Linked DNA regions of Homo sapiens: regions 2 and 3 are each linked to region 1. The links are contacts of gene promoters, found by promoter capture Hi-C in human tissues and cell types (Jung and others, 2019). All regions are on one chromosome and are shown on one strand. Each heading gives the region's core, a stretch centred on a gene start or on the middle of the fragment in contact. The rest is flanking DNA. Distances are from core to core; before and after follow the strand shown. Region 1 holds the start of F13A1 (coagulation factor XIII A chain). Region 2 overlaps F13A1 (coagulation factor XIII A chain). Region 3 holds the start of LOC124901253 (a long non-coding RNA gene).

Region 1 (4,145 bases), core at 603-3,102:
TGAGATGCACCAGGTTTTCCAGGAAAGTGATACATCTCATGTTAGACATGATGAGCGTGTGTTGTCACTGGGATGTGACAAATGAGGATAGCCAGTAGGCACTTAGATACGGGAATCTGCAATTCTGGAAAAGATCTTGGCTAAAGACCCAGATTTGGGAGGTGTCAGGATATAGATGGAATTTGAAAACTATGGGAGTTCCTCAGACAATCAAGGAATATTGCGCTGCACTGGAGGAAACCACAGAGTGTTCAATGTCAAGGAGGCCTAGGAAAAATACCTTCAAAGACAGAGTTCAATGCTTCCAAAAGGTCAGGTAAATAAGAACTGAATCCTGTCTTTTGGCCTGAGCACAGGCCTTGGAGACCGTGACCTCCACTTTCAGTAGAATGATGAGGCGGAAGCCAGATGGCAGATACTTAGTGATGAAGGGGAGGAGAGGAGGAGTAACAGCAGGAGTGGGGACATAGGTTGGGGGAGGTTTTTAAAAAAATACTGAAGAGACCTGAAATTGCATGAATGCTGAGAAGACCCACTATTAGCAAGCAGGAGCTTGAAGCTGCAAGAGGAAGAGTACGTAAGAGTCACAGCAAAGCCCCGGAGAACAAGGCAACGCAGAAGCCTGGTTTGGAGATGCAGAGGGAGGAGGGACCTTTCCAACTTCAGTAACAAGAAGAAAGAGGAAAAGATAGATAAGGTTGCAGGCAGGTTCATAGATTGGTAGCAGAAAATTGAGAGAATTTCTAACCAATGGCATCTTTTTTTTTCTTCTTTATAACATTGGGAGATTGAGTGGCAGGGTCAGAAATTTGAAGACAGTAAAGAAGGTTAGAAATAGCCATGTTTGACTGGGTGCGGTGGCTCACGCCTGTAATCCCAACACTTTGGGAAGCCAAGGAGGGTGGATCACCTGAGGTCAGAAGTTCGAGACCAGCCTGGCCAACATGGTAAAGCCCCATCTCTACTAAAAATACAAAAATTAGGCGGGCATGGTGGCATGCACCTGTAGTTCCAGCTACTTGGGAGGCTGAGGCAGAAGAATCACTTGAACCCGGGAGGTGGAGGTTGCACTCCAGCCTTTGCAACAGAGCAAGACTTCATCTGAAAGATAGAAAGATGAAAGAAAGAAAGAAAGAAAGAGTAAAAGAAAAAAATTAAAATTTTAGGGGGAAAATTTTCTAATTTTTGAACATGCACTAAAATGATTTTCAGAGAAAACCAAGTGTTATTTTCTAATCTGCATGGCATTATTAAAGATGTTTACTCATCTTCCTTGGGGCTAGGCATCCCATTCCTGCAGGAAGTCTTGTGGTTAGGCGGTGGCTGTGGCTCTGGGATGATTCAGGAATGCAGACCATGCCTTATTTGCACAGGAGGGACACGTTGCTCTCACTGCATGCATGGTCACAACTGTCTGTGTGACCTGTCTGTGGGAGGGCAGACCCCCCTCCTGCCAAGCCACAGTAGCAGCTGACCTGCCAGGCAAAAGCATTCCTTTGTAAAGGAAACCCTCCCAGACCCTCTGACCAAAGGGGACGGGTGGGGACTTCCTGGCACTGCAGGGCCCCTTGCCTGGTACTCCCAGCAACTGGTTGCGGTGGGGAGGGCAGATCTAGGGATGGGGATGGGGAGGAGAAGTGGGAATGGGAAATTGGGAGTCAGAGGGGCAAGTGGGAGAGAAGGGCGCACCTGCCGGGATAACAGGCCAGATGAAGTAAATAGAAAATCCTCTGAGCTCCCCTACTGGCTCCAGCTGTGGAGAAGGGGGAGGAGAAAACCCTGTGGGACAGGGGAGGAGGGTGAGGGCTCCTCTTAGGAAGTTATTTAAGAGCCAACTGTCTTGTCTTTCCCGAGTCCGTTTGAGGAAGTCCCCGAGGCGCACAGAGCAAGCCCACGCGAGGGCACCTCTGGAGGGGAGCGCCTGCAGGTAAGCCACCGACCCTGCACCCTATGAGCCAGGGCCCGCTGCGTCCACCTTCTGCACCTCGGTTTCCTGGTTGAACCAGCAAGCGGCTTGCTCTGGGCCCTGTGGCGCCGGTCACAGGCAGCTCCACTTGCCCAATCCTGGCTTCCCGCCCCCAACTCCGCACCTGCCCAGCCCAGCTTCTAAGCGGGACTTCTCTCAGGCTCTCGAGGCAGCTCTCCCGAAGCCGTTGCTTGCTTAGAATGCCACCAAATGGGGATGGGGGAGTTGGAGGTGCTTCCCCAAGGGACGAGCCCCCTTTCCTCAGGGAGCAGATTATGGAGCTGGAACACAAAAGGTGGAGGGAGTGGGGCCAAGTGAGAACAGCCTGCTAGACTGGAACCCCGCCGGCTTGGCTCCCCACTCCTGCGCGCCTCCCCACTCCTGCGCATCGCCTGCCTCCGTCCCAATTTGGAGCTGAACTCGAGCCACTTCTCCTCCTTAGACCCGCCCAGAAGCGAGGGCTCCTGCCCGCCGCACTCACCCAGCCAGGCGTGCACCTGGGGCTCCCCCCTTCTCCCCCTTAGCACTGTGTCTCCCGACAGCGCGCCACACTGTTCTGCACCCCTGGCAATGCCGCAGCCTACCTTCGGTATTTCTCACTAGAGGATGGCTCTCGCAGCCTTCTCCCTATCATTAACCCTTTTTCGCTCTTCTCCCTCCCTTCCCCCGTCAGCTCACCAATGACTGTAAATATATTTATCTATACTTATGGATACCCATTCACACCTTATGCATCCAAACACTCCTGTCTCCTTCTCAGACCAGACACCTTAGGCGTGGTTGTCTTTTCTCCAGCATGTTGTTAGTGCTCCACATGTCTCTGGAACCATCTCTCTACTCTGGTGGCCTCTATAATGGGGACTCTTCACCTCTTGGGGGTGTGCCTGGTTTTTGAAAATAGCCAAGTCTCCAGGAGTCATGACTGGGTAATCCAGGGGATCAAGGGGGAACCTTCACTGGGCCCAGAAACAAAGTCCCCCTTCATTTGGTCATTTGGTCAACAAGTACTTACTGGGCACTGACCGTCAGGTGTGTGTTGTTTAAACTGGCTCAGTGCCTGCACAAGCTCCAAGGGAAGGGGAAGCAGGCTTGGGGAATGGGAAATGTTGGCAACCCTGACTTCTTAAGCCTATTGATAGCCCTATTGAAAATTGCATGCCCAACCTCTCCACCTCCTTATCCTCCTCCATGTGGCTCAATTTCCAAAGCAGTTCCTACCTCCTCACCCCTAAGTGGATTTACTTATGGCTCTTCTTGGGCTCCACCCTAACCCTATCAGACTATAATCTATCAGAGCAAACATTCTGTTTTGTTCTCTGATGTATCCCATGTACCTAGATCACAGCCTGGCATGTCATAGGCCCTCAATAAATATTGGTTGAATTAAATTGCAAATGTAAACGCTTTAGAAGACAACATTTGTCTGGACATGGTTGTGTGCGTTTATTCTTAAAAGTGACTTATAATCTCATAAATCTGTATGAAATGAACATAGATACAGCACATGCATATAACAGGAAACATTTCTTGCGAAGATGCTGCTGTAGGATTATGGAGGGTGGGGGAATCTGGGTCTCCAAAAATCTTTTAATTTTTAAATTTCTTTGAATAAGCCCCTTTTCTTCTGCTTTCCATATGTTTTGACACATACAAAAATCTCCCCAAGATCCTTGGGGAACTGTATTCCATCATTAGACTAATCCTTGCTGCCACTTCTCAGTTTTTATTTATGCAAACGGCAAAATGTGTTGCTCAAGTGCTATCACACACAGATATATCTGTTTCTCTATTTTGGAATCCTTGTCTCAAATGTTACTCACTTTACATGCCTTTTCTGTTGTCTTCTTTTTTTTTTTTTTCTGAAGGACCTTGTAAAGTCAAAAATGTCAGAAACTTCCAGGACCGCCTTTGGAGGCAGAAGAGCAGTTCCACCCAATAACTCTAATGCAGCGGAAGATGACCTGCCCACAGTGGAGCTTCAGGGCGTGGTGCCCCGGGGCGTCAACCTGCAAGGTATGAGCATACCCCCCTTCCCCACCACTCTGGGTCCAGGCACAGCCGGGCCCTGGCCCCTCTTCCCTGCAGGTAAACATCCTCTGTCTCCACTGGGGTTCCCACAAAAGGAAGCCCCCTGCCAATCTCTGGTTTTATAAAGGAAGAAAGCAAAAGCTTTCTTTTA
Region 2 (4,145 bases), core at 615-3,114, 50 kb after region 1:
TTTCCCTAACGATATGGCCAGAAGTCTTCTTATTACTAAGTATAGCATATGAGGGGCACAGACTGCAGCCACTGGACTTACAGATGACATGCCCAAAAGAGGAGAGAAGTGGGAGTGTCCTGAGTTATCAGCTTCTTTATTTTGGAGCACGAGAGGGAGCAGTGATTGATAGATGTGTCTACTCAGTCACTGATACCAACCCTCCTTGATGGCAAGTATGTTCTTCCAGGTCCTAGGCATGAGAGAGGTGGAGTCAGAACAGTTCTATTAGGAACAATATTCAACCATACTGACCATACCATGTGCTATTTGATGTCCTTTCTAGACTACCTGGGAACCTAATCACCACCTAGGACATTGTATTTTTAATGTAAAAATATTTCAAAGCCATCAACTAACCCAAAAGATTAATTTTTTAAAAGGCAATGAATTCTTCTAGTGGGCACTACCAATGCAGGGCTTTGCGTGCAGTGGGCTCTCTGGTCTGTGGAATGCATTGAAAGGTTGAGAGGACATTTTCCCCAGGGTCACATAGCACTGAATTTGAGCTGTGGCTAGATTTCTCTTTCCTATCTTGTGAAGAATACTAATATCAAGAAACTGTGCACAAAGCTCAATCAAGCCTAGGTAGCTAAGGTTGGAAAAGAGTAACATCACAAATGGAATTAAAGATTTTCATCTTCTTCCTCCTACATCCCAGCTGGGGGGATTAAGGTAGGTCTGTGTAAGGAGAGTGAGGCCCTCAGTAAAGGGACAATGAGACATTCGAATATAGGCATATGGTCCAAGCGGCTTTTGCCTTAAAAACATTAGTTTTGTGGCCTCAATAATAATTCACAAATGGAAGCAAGCACTGAAACTAAGAGCATATGTTAATTTCTAGATCACTTGGGAAGATGGCACTAGTTTTTGATAAGTGTGAAAAAATGCAATTGGTAATTATAATATTTCCTCATGTTTAGTAGTCCAATTTCAAAGGCTGCAATTATTAAAAACAAAACGGGATTCCTTTCTTGGATGCTGTCTTTCCCGATGTCTTTTTCTTGCCCTGATGTTTTTAACGCAAAGTTGCATGATTTGGGGGAGAAAAACACATCTATCCAGGCATTATATACTCTAGGCAAACACGTGCATGGAGGTTCCCTGTATGGAGCCATGTTTTCCATCCAGATTGGGCCAAGGATAGCTGATGGGCAGTCATGGATGTTGATGGATGGGTTTTCCCAGGGTAGCTGGATTGTGGTCTCGTAACCATGCCGACTCCTGGGGCTGAGAAGGGCTATTTAGTGAAATGAAATACTACTCTGTCACAACTTCCTCACTCACAATTCAATCATGGAGAGTACTTCCCCAGTGCTGTCACTGAAATCATTACATTCAGAATTAAACATGGGTGTAATAGAGCAGTCCCTGAGGTTCTATTGGCACATCAGGTTCCACATTCCTAACCAGCTTTCCCATACAGGAATATGAAAAGCCTGCCAATCAGGATTCTTTTTCCTTCCTTTGGAATTAATCTCACCACTCCCTGTCCCTGATAACGCTTCCATAACCTGTTCCCGGGCCACGTGGCATCAGCGTATCAGCAGGATTGCTCAGCCTTCACCCTTTGGTGTCTGACATTACTTTGGAAGTCTTCCCAATGCAAATCACAAAAAAATGAGTTGGCCCAGAGAGACCCTCATGCAGGTTCTCTCCACCTGGTCTTCCTTCTCTTCACTCACTCAGTTGTTACCTCCTTTGATCCACATTTCTGGCTCACACAACTCTTATCCACGGCAGCATATTTTCTCAATGTCCCTTTTCCTCATATTCCTTTGGACTTTCCAGTTTTATTCTTCTCTTGTCTCCTTTCATCTCCCTAGATCCCTTTTGCCATTCTCCACCTTCCTCCACAGAGGAAGCATGACATGGAGCAAAGAGAACAGGCTTCCCTGTCCCCAGTTCTGTCTCCACTTCTGCCTAGCTATGTGATGTGCACACATGACGCCCTCACCAAGCCTCAGTTTCCCATCTGTAAAAATTTCCTCACAGAGGTTTTGTAAGGACCCCAAGAAATAAAACTTATTTCCTGTCACTTTATTTGCATCACTATGTGAACTGCCTTGGCAACTCTAAACAACTTTTGCAATCTTAAAATTGAATATTTTAGCCATGAATCATAAAATCAATAAAAAGCTACAAACTTCCTATGTTTTCAACACCCCCTGAGACTGTGGGGAATTTAGGCGACTTTAAGGAAACTAAAGGTTGACCTACTAGTAGTACAGATGTTTGCGAATAGTTTAGAAACATATTTCTCCTTGGAAGGAGAAGCTAGGTGATGGTATTTTCTTCTTAGGCTCAAGTGTTAGACTTCAAGAGTCTGTAATAAATCGCTCCTTAAATAAATAAAATGTGAAATCCTCTAAGGCAGATGTTGGCAATTGTTTACTGTAAGGGCCAGCTACTGTGTTAGGCGTTGCAGACCATAGGGACTCTGTCACAACTACTCAACTCTGCTCTTACAAGAGTAGGGTTGTATTGTAGCACAATAATACACAAGCAAATCAACATAACTGTGTTCCAATTAAACTTTATATAAACAGTAGGTAGGCTGGGCGCAGTGGCTCATGCCTGTAATCCCAGCACTTTGGGAGGCCTAGGCGGGCAGATCATGAGGTCAGGAGATCAAGACCATCCTGGCTAACAAGGTGAAACCCCGTCTCTACTAAAAATACAAAAATTAGCCGGGCGTGATGGTGGGCGCCTGTAATCCCAGCTACTAGGGAGGCTGAGGCAGGAGAATGGCATGAACCCAGGAGGCAGAGCTTGCAGTGAGCCAAGATTGCACCACTGCACTCCAGCCTGGGCAACAGTGCAAGACTCCATCTCAAAACAAAACAAAATAAAACAAACAAAAAAAAAAACAGTAGGTAAGCTACATTTGGCCCGCAGACTATAGTTTTCTAACCATTGCTCTAAAGGATGAATGGAGATTACATTGATCATTAACAACTCAGAAAATCAGAAATTATGATTGAATGGGAGGTTTCAGGTGACTCCATGATGATTCTGGAATTATTAAGGCTTTTGGTTACTAATAAATGGCAACCCTTTTTTTTTTCTTTTTTTACTTCTACAAGTTCTCCTGATGGAAAAATCAGTCAGCTCAAGGTTTTTTAGTTTGGGATGAATTGGCCTTTGAAATAGATTTGGGCTTTGATAGGTTTGTTGGCAATTGGTAAACCCATCCTAATTTCCCACAGATGGAGCAGAGAAGGATCACTTAGAGGAATCAGAAAGCCCAGGACAACAGGGAAGTAATGATAACTACCAATTATTAAGCTGCCCTCCCCATCACAAACTATGACCACCATGATCTCCATTTTGTAGAAGAAGCAAAGTTTTAGTTGACAGGGGATGAGTGCTTTGCCCGAGATCACACAGAAGTGTTAGAGCCAGCTGAATTGCTTTCCCCTTAGCCACAATATCTCAATCAACACAAGTAACGTACTTTCCTTGGGACATTCACCTTTCTTCAGATTCAGAACCAGAGAGCAAAAAAGAAATCACCCCTTCTTCCTTCTGCCTTTACTTTCTAGTAGAAGTTATACTTAAAAAAAAAAAACAATTTGCCAGGCATGGTGGCTCACACCTGTAATCCCAGTACTTTGGGAGGCTGAGGCGGGGGGGAACACCTGAGGTCAGGAGTTTGAGACCAGCCTGCCCTACATGGCAAAAACTTGTCTCTACTAAAAATACAAAAAGTTAGCCAGGCATGGTGGTGGGTGCCTGTAATCCCAGCTACTTGGGAGGCTGAGGCAGGAAAATTGCTTGAACCCAGGAGGCAGAGGTTGCAGTGAGCTGAGACTATGCCACTGCACTCCAGCCTGGGTGGCAAGAGTGAAAGTCCTTCTCAAAAAAAAAAAAAAAAAATGAGTGCCCCCTCAGCCAGCCCCTACTGTGTGCTAAGCATAAAGCTTTCATTATATTATAAAATCTATTGTCTTTTTATTTCCCAAACTAAACTGCAAAGAATCAAGAAAATGGAAGCTAAGACAAGTAAGTGATTTGCCTGAAGTTGCACCAGTAGTTAATAGTGGAGTCAGAATTTGACATGGTTCTCATCAACTCCAAAACATTTTCAACTCACACAGCTGCCA
Region 3 (4,145 bases), core at 495-2,994, 33 kb after region 1:
GAAGACACCAAAATGGCCAACTGGCTTATGGAAGAATGCTCAACACCTCTAATCATCAGGGAAACGCAAATTAAAACCACAATGAGGTGCCACCTCATACCTGTTAGAATGGTTACTACCAAAGAGAATGATAACAAGCCTTGGCAAGAATGCAGGGAATAGAGAACCCTATACACTATTAGTGGGAATGTAAATTAAGGCAGCTGTTTTGGAAAGTCGTGTGGCAGTTCCTCACAAAACTAGCAATAGAACTAACGTGATTCAGCAATCCCACTTCTGGGTATGTATCTAAAGAAAATTGAAATCAGGATGTTGAAAAGATGTATGTAGTCTCATGTTCATTTCAGCATCACTCACAATAACCAAGATATGAAAGCAACCTAACCAATGGATAAAGAAAATGTGGTATATAGACACAATGGAGTACTATACAGCCCTTAGAAGAAGGAAAATTCTGCCATTCTCAACAAGGGTAGAACTGGAGAGCACTATGCTAACTGAAATAAGCCAGGCACAGAAAGATGAATACTGTATGATCTCACTTATATGTGGAATCTGAAAAAGTCAATCTCAGAAACACAGTAGAAAGTTGTTTACCAGAGGCTGGGGCTTGGGGGCAAGGAATGAGGAAAAAGAAGATGTTGATCAATGGGTACAAAGTCTCAGTTAGACTGAAAGAATAAGTTTTAGTGATCTACTGCATGGCTTGGTGACCACAGTTTAAAATAATGTATTGTATATTTCAAAATTGCTAAAAGAATAGATTTTTAATGTCTTCACCACAGTTACCTTTCTTTTTTCCATGTACATAGAAAAGAAAGGTAACTATGTAAGGTAATAAACATGTGAATTAGCTGATTGAATCTTTCTACAATGTATACATAGATCAAAACTTCACATTGTATCCCAATAGATTCCCCATAAGTGATTGTCTATTTTTTAAAAAACATCTACACACGCACAAAGAAAATGCTTCCAAAAGCAAATAGGAGGGCATTGCTCTCATGTCTTTTGTCTCCTGGTGGCAAAGACAACCATCACTGAACCTCCCAACAGAAATACCCAGTCTCCTTGTTACATCCATTCTGACAGCTTCATTAGTCACATAGGGGCTCTGACAATCCACAGGCCAAGTTCTGCCTGGAATTATTTGCCCATAGTTCTAGCTGAAGTGACAGAAACAGTTTAATCTCAAAGTAGGTGGGATTGCCATCCATATTTTGGTGCCAGAGACCTTACCATGTGCTTCCTCAGCCCTGCCCTGTCACCCACATCATGTCTGCAGAGCTGGAGTTTCCCAGTGAAGCTTATGGTCCCTAGGGTAATAGAGTCGCTGATGTCTTTGTCACATTAAGGGTGCCACACAGAGCACTTATGAAGGGCCATGGGTATCGGAATGAGAACACTCAGAACATCCACAAACGCTTCCTCCCTGACTGCCTCCTGTGCTTTCTCCCCTCTTTCCTATTCCCCTAATTTGCCTTCACCCTTGCTCCTATGTCTGTTTCTCTCTGTCTTCACACTTGTATCTTATGATGACCTCTTTCACTTACAAGAATTCATAAACGTGGCTCATTTGCACCCACATAATTGAAACTGTACTCCACCAGAAAGCGCTGGTCTGAACTCAGGGAGGACGGACTGTGGGCATTCCCTGGCTTTTCCACATAAATTCTAAGACATTCTTGCAGCATATGAAGCAAGAGGTGAAAAAGGTGGGGGAAAATATTTAATGAAAACAAATGTGCCCACTGCGATAACTTGCTCTTGAGTCTCTAATCTAAAAAGAGAGCATGCAAGTGGAATTACAGCCCACTAAAGAAAGGATCCAAATGGACTAAATATTCTTCATCTTTGCCCTCCAGTTACTCCAGAAGCATGTTGTAAGGATTAATGAGGGAATAACTGGAAGCTCTTTGAACTGCTTCGTGATAGTTCCTTCCTAATAAGATGACCCAATTACCAGCCTTATTTTCAATATTGCAACTATGTAGGAAAGCTAAATTCTTATGGTATTCCTTAAGGAAGGATAACCTTCATAAAATGCTACTATAACAGCAGCCAGAGCCAGACAGGTATTACACAACCATAAGACAGGCTATAAATAGCTGTACCTCTCTCTTGCTACCCTCTTCACCCTCTTTCTTCTCAGTATCTTGGCCTCTTTTCTGATCTTTTCTCTTCTTTCTTAAGATTTCTATTACTTTCATCCCGGCCTGTCTGTTTCTGTCTTGCTCTTCCTCTCTGTCTGTCTCTCATGCATACATACACACTGTCCTGTGGATGCACGTCTAGGTGTTAGTGGCAGCAAATGTACTGGAGTCCCACAGCACCAAAGTATGTTAGCAGCAGTGAATCCACATGGATCTACAGCAGCCTCAATTCTTGCCTCCTCATAAGGCAGGAGAGACTGGGGCAAGTTTTAGAGCAGGAGTGAAAGTTTATTCAAAAGCTTTAGAACAGGAATGAAAGGAAAGAAAATACACTTGGAAAAGGGCCAAGTGGGTAACTTGAAAGACAAGTGTACAGTTTGACTTTGACTTAGGGTTTTTGTTCGTTTTTTTGAGACAGACTCTTGCTCTGTCACCCAGGCTGGAGAGAAGTGGCGCGATCTCAGCTTACTGCAACCTCCACTTCCCAGGTTCAAGTGATTCTCCTGCCTCAGCCTCTCCAGTAGCTGGGATTACAGGCACTTGCCACAACACACGGCTAATTTTTGTATTTTTAATGGAGATGAGGTTTCACCATGTTGACCAGGCTGGTCTCAAACTCCTTACCTCAAATAATCCATCTGAAAGTGCTGAGATGACAGGCATGAGCCACCGCACCTGACTGACTTCAGGTTTTACCTGTTGGCATACTTCTGGGGTCTTGCGTCCCTACTCCTGTGATTCTTCCCTTAAGTGGTGTGTCTGCGTGTGCAGTGGCCTGCTAGCGCTTAGAAGCGGAGCATGCACAGTGCGTTTACTAGTGTTGTACTCGTGACCACTTGATGCATTTTTTCCTTACCAGTTGAGTGTCCCTGGAGGAAGGCCACATACTGGTTAAATTCCGCCATTTTGGCTCTTAGTGCGCATGCCTGAGCCCACTCACCCAACTGCTGAGGTTTTATTGGGAAGCTGCTGATCACCAGTTTCAGGTATTTCTGTTTATTGGGAGACTGCCCTTCCCTAGCACTGGCTGGGACCAATTATTATTTTAGAAGGACAGTTTAACAATGACCGTCACCTGATGGTCGCCTGCCATTCCTGGTGTGTGCGTAGTGGGGGAAGCCCTCTCCTCCCCTACTCATGCCTGACTAGGTACCTACTGTAGCATAGGTATTTACTCATTTGTTAGAGAAGTAATGGGAGTTACCCTTGGGAGGTGGGTCTGACCGTTTTTGTGTCTGTTCATGAGCATTTCTTTAGCCTTCAGGAAGCTGGGGCTGGATGTGCTAAATGTGCTGCCCATCTCTGGCTAAAGCCTAGCTTAGCCATTGGGATGCTCCTTCTCTGCACTGTTGGAGGTTTTGCTTTGGCTTCTTCAACTTCCTTGTCTATTTCCTTTCCAATTCTGTTTACAAATCTCTATAACATCTTGTCCCATGTCTGGTTCAGTGAATTTGTGATGCAGAAACCTCTGCTGTGTCCAGCAGTTTGTGACACCCCAGAGGGGGTTTAAGAGGAATGAAAGACCCCATCTCTGTCTTTTTTCTTTTTGAGTTGGAGTCTCGCTCTGGTGCCCATGCCGGAGTGCAGTGGCGTGATCTCAGCTCACTGCAACCTCTGCCTCCCAGGTTCAAGTGATTCTCTTGCCTCAGCCTCCTGAGTAGCTGGGATTACAGGTGCCCGCCACCAGGCCTAGCTAATTTATTTTTTGTATTTTTAGTAGAAACGGGATTTCACCATGTTGGCCAGGCTGGTTTCAAACTTTTGACCATCTCTGTCTTTAAAGAGCTTACTGTAGTTGGAGTGAGAGGAATTCCACAAACAATGAACACAGTCAGAGAGTATATAATTGAGCTATACTGATACAGTTGCCTTCCAGAAATGTGTGACACGACTGGCCGAAGTGACTCTGGGCAGTCAAGAGCAAGAGGATCAGCTAGAGTTGAAGGGTAAAATCTCAGAAAAGGGCAGGGAGGTCTTGAGATGACTCTTGAG

Evidence for each region. Contacts are between HindIII fragments. The study calls those that stand out against the background at their distance.
Region 2: a contact is called between a fragment that was not itself captured here and the fragment with the promoter of F13A1 in region 1, in 2 of the 25 tissues and cell types used here (aorta and stomach).
Region 3: a fragment that was not itself captured here is called in contact with the fragment with the promoter of F13A1 in region 1 in 1 of the 25 tissues and cell types used here (pancreas).

Annotation. Positions count from the first base shown.
Region 1 is chr6:6,318,369-6,322,513 of GRCh38, reverse strand. F13A1 (coagulation factor XIII A chain) reads left to right here and starts at 1,852. Exons shown (of 15, transcript NM_000129.4): 1 at 1,852-1,927; 2 at 3,832-3,979. The coding sequence starts at 3,850. The region is part of intron 1 of LOC124901253 (a long non-coding RNA gene); the gene reads right to left. The HindIII fragment of the contact is 8,313 bases long and covers 1-4,145 here.
Region 2 is chr6:6,268,461-6,272,605 of GRCh38, reverse strand. The region is part of intron 3 of F13A1 (coagulation factor XIII A chain); the gene reads left to right. Among named protein-coding and RNA genes, the nearest start is that of F13A1, 50 kb to the left of the region's middle. The HindIII fragment of the contact is 4,937 bases long and covers 1-4,145 here.
Region 3 is chr6:6,284,805-6,288,949 of GRCh38, reverse strand. The region is part of intron 3 of F13A1 (coagulation factor XIII A chain); the gene reads left to right. LOC124901253 (a long non-coding RNA gene) reads right to left here and starts at 3,063. Exons shown (of 2, transcript XR_007059428.1): 1 at 3,010-3,063. The HindIII fragment of the contact is 5,107 bases long and covers 1-4,145 here.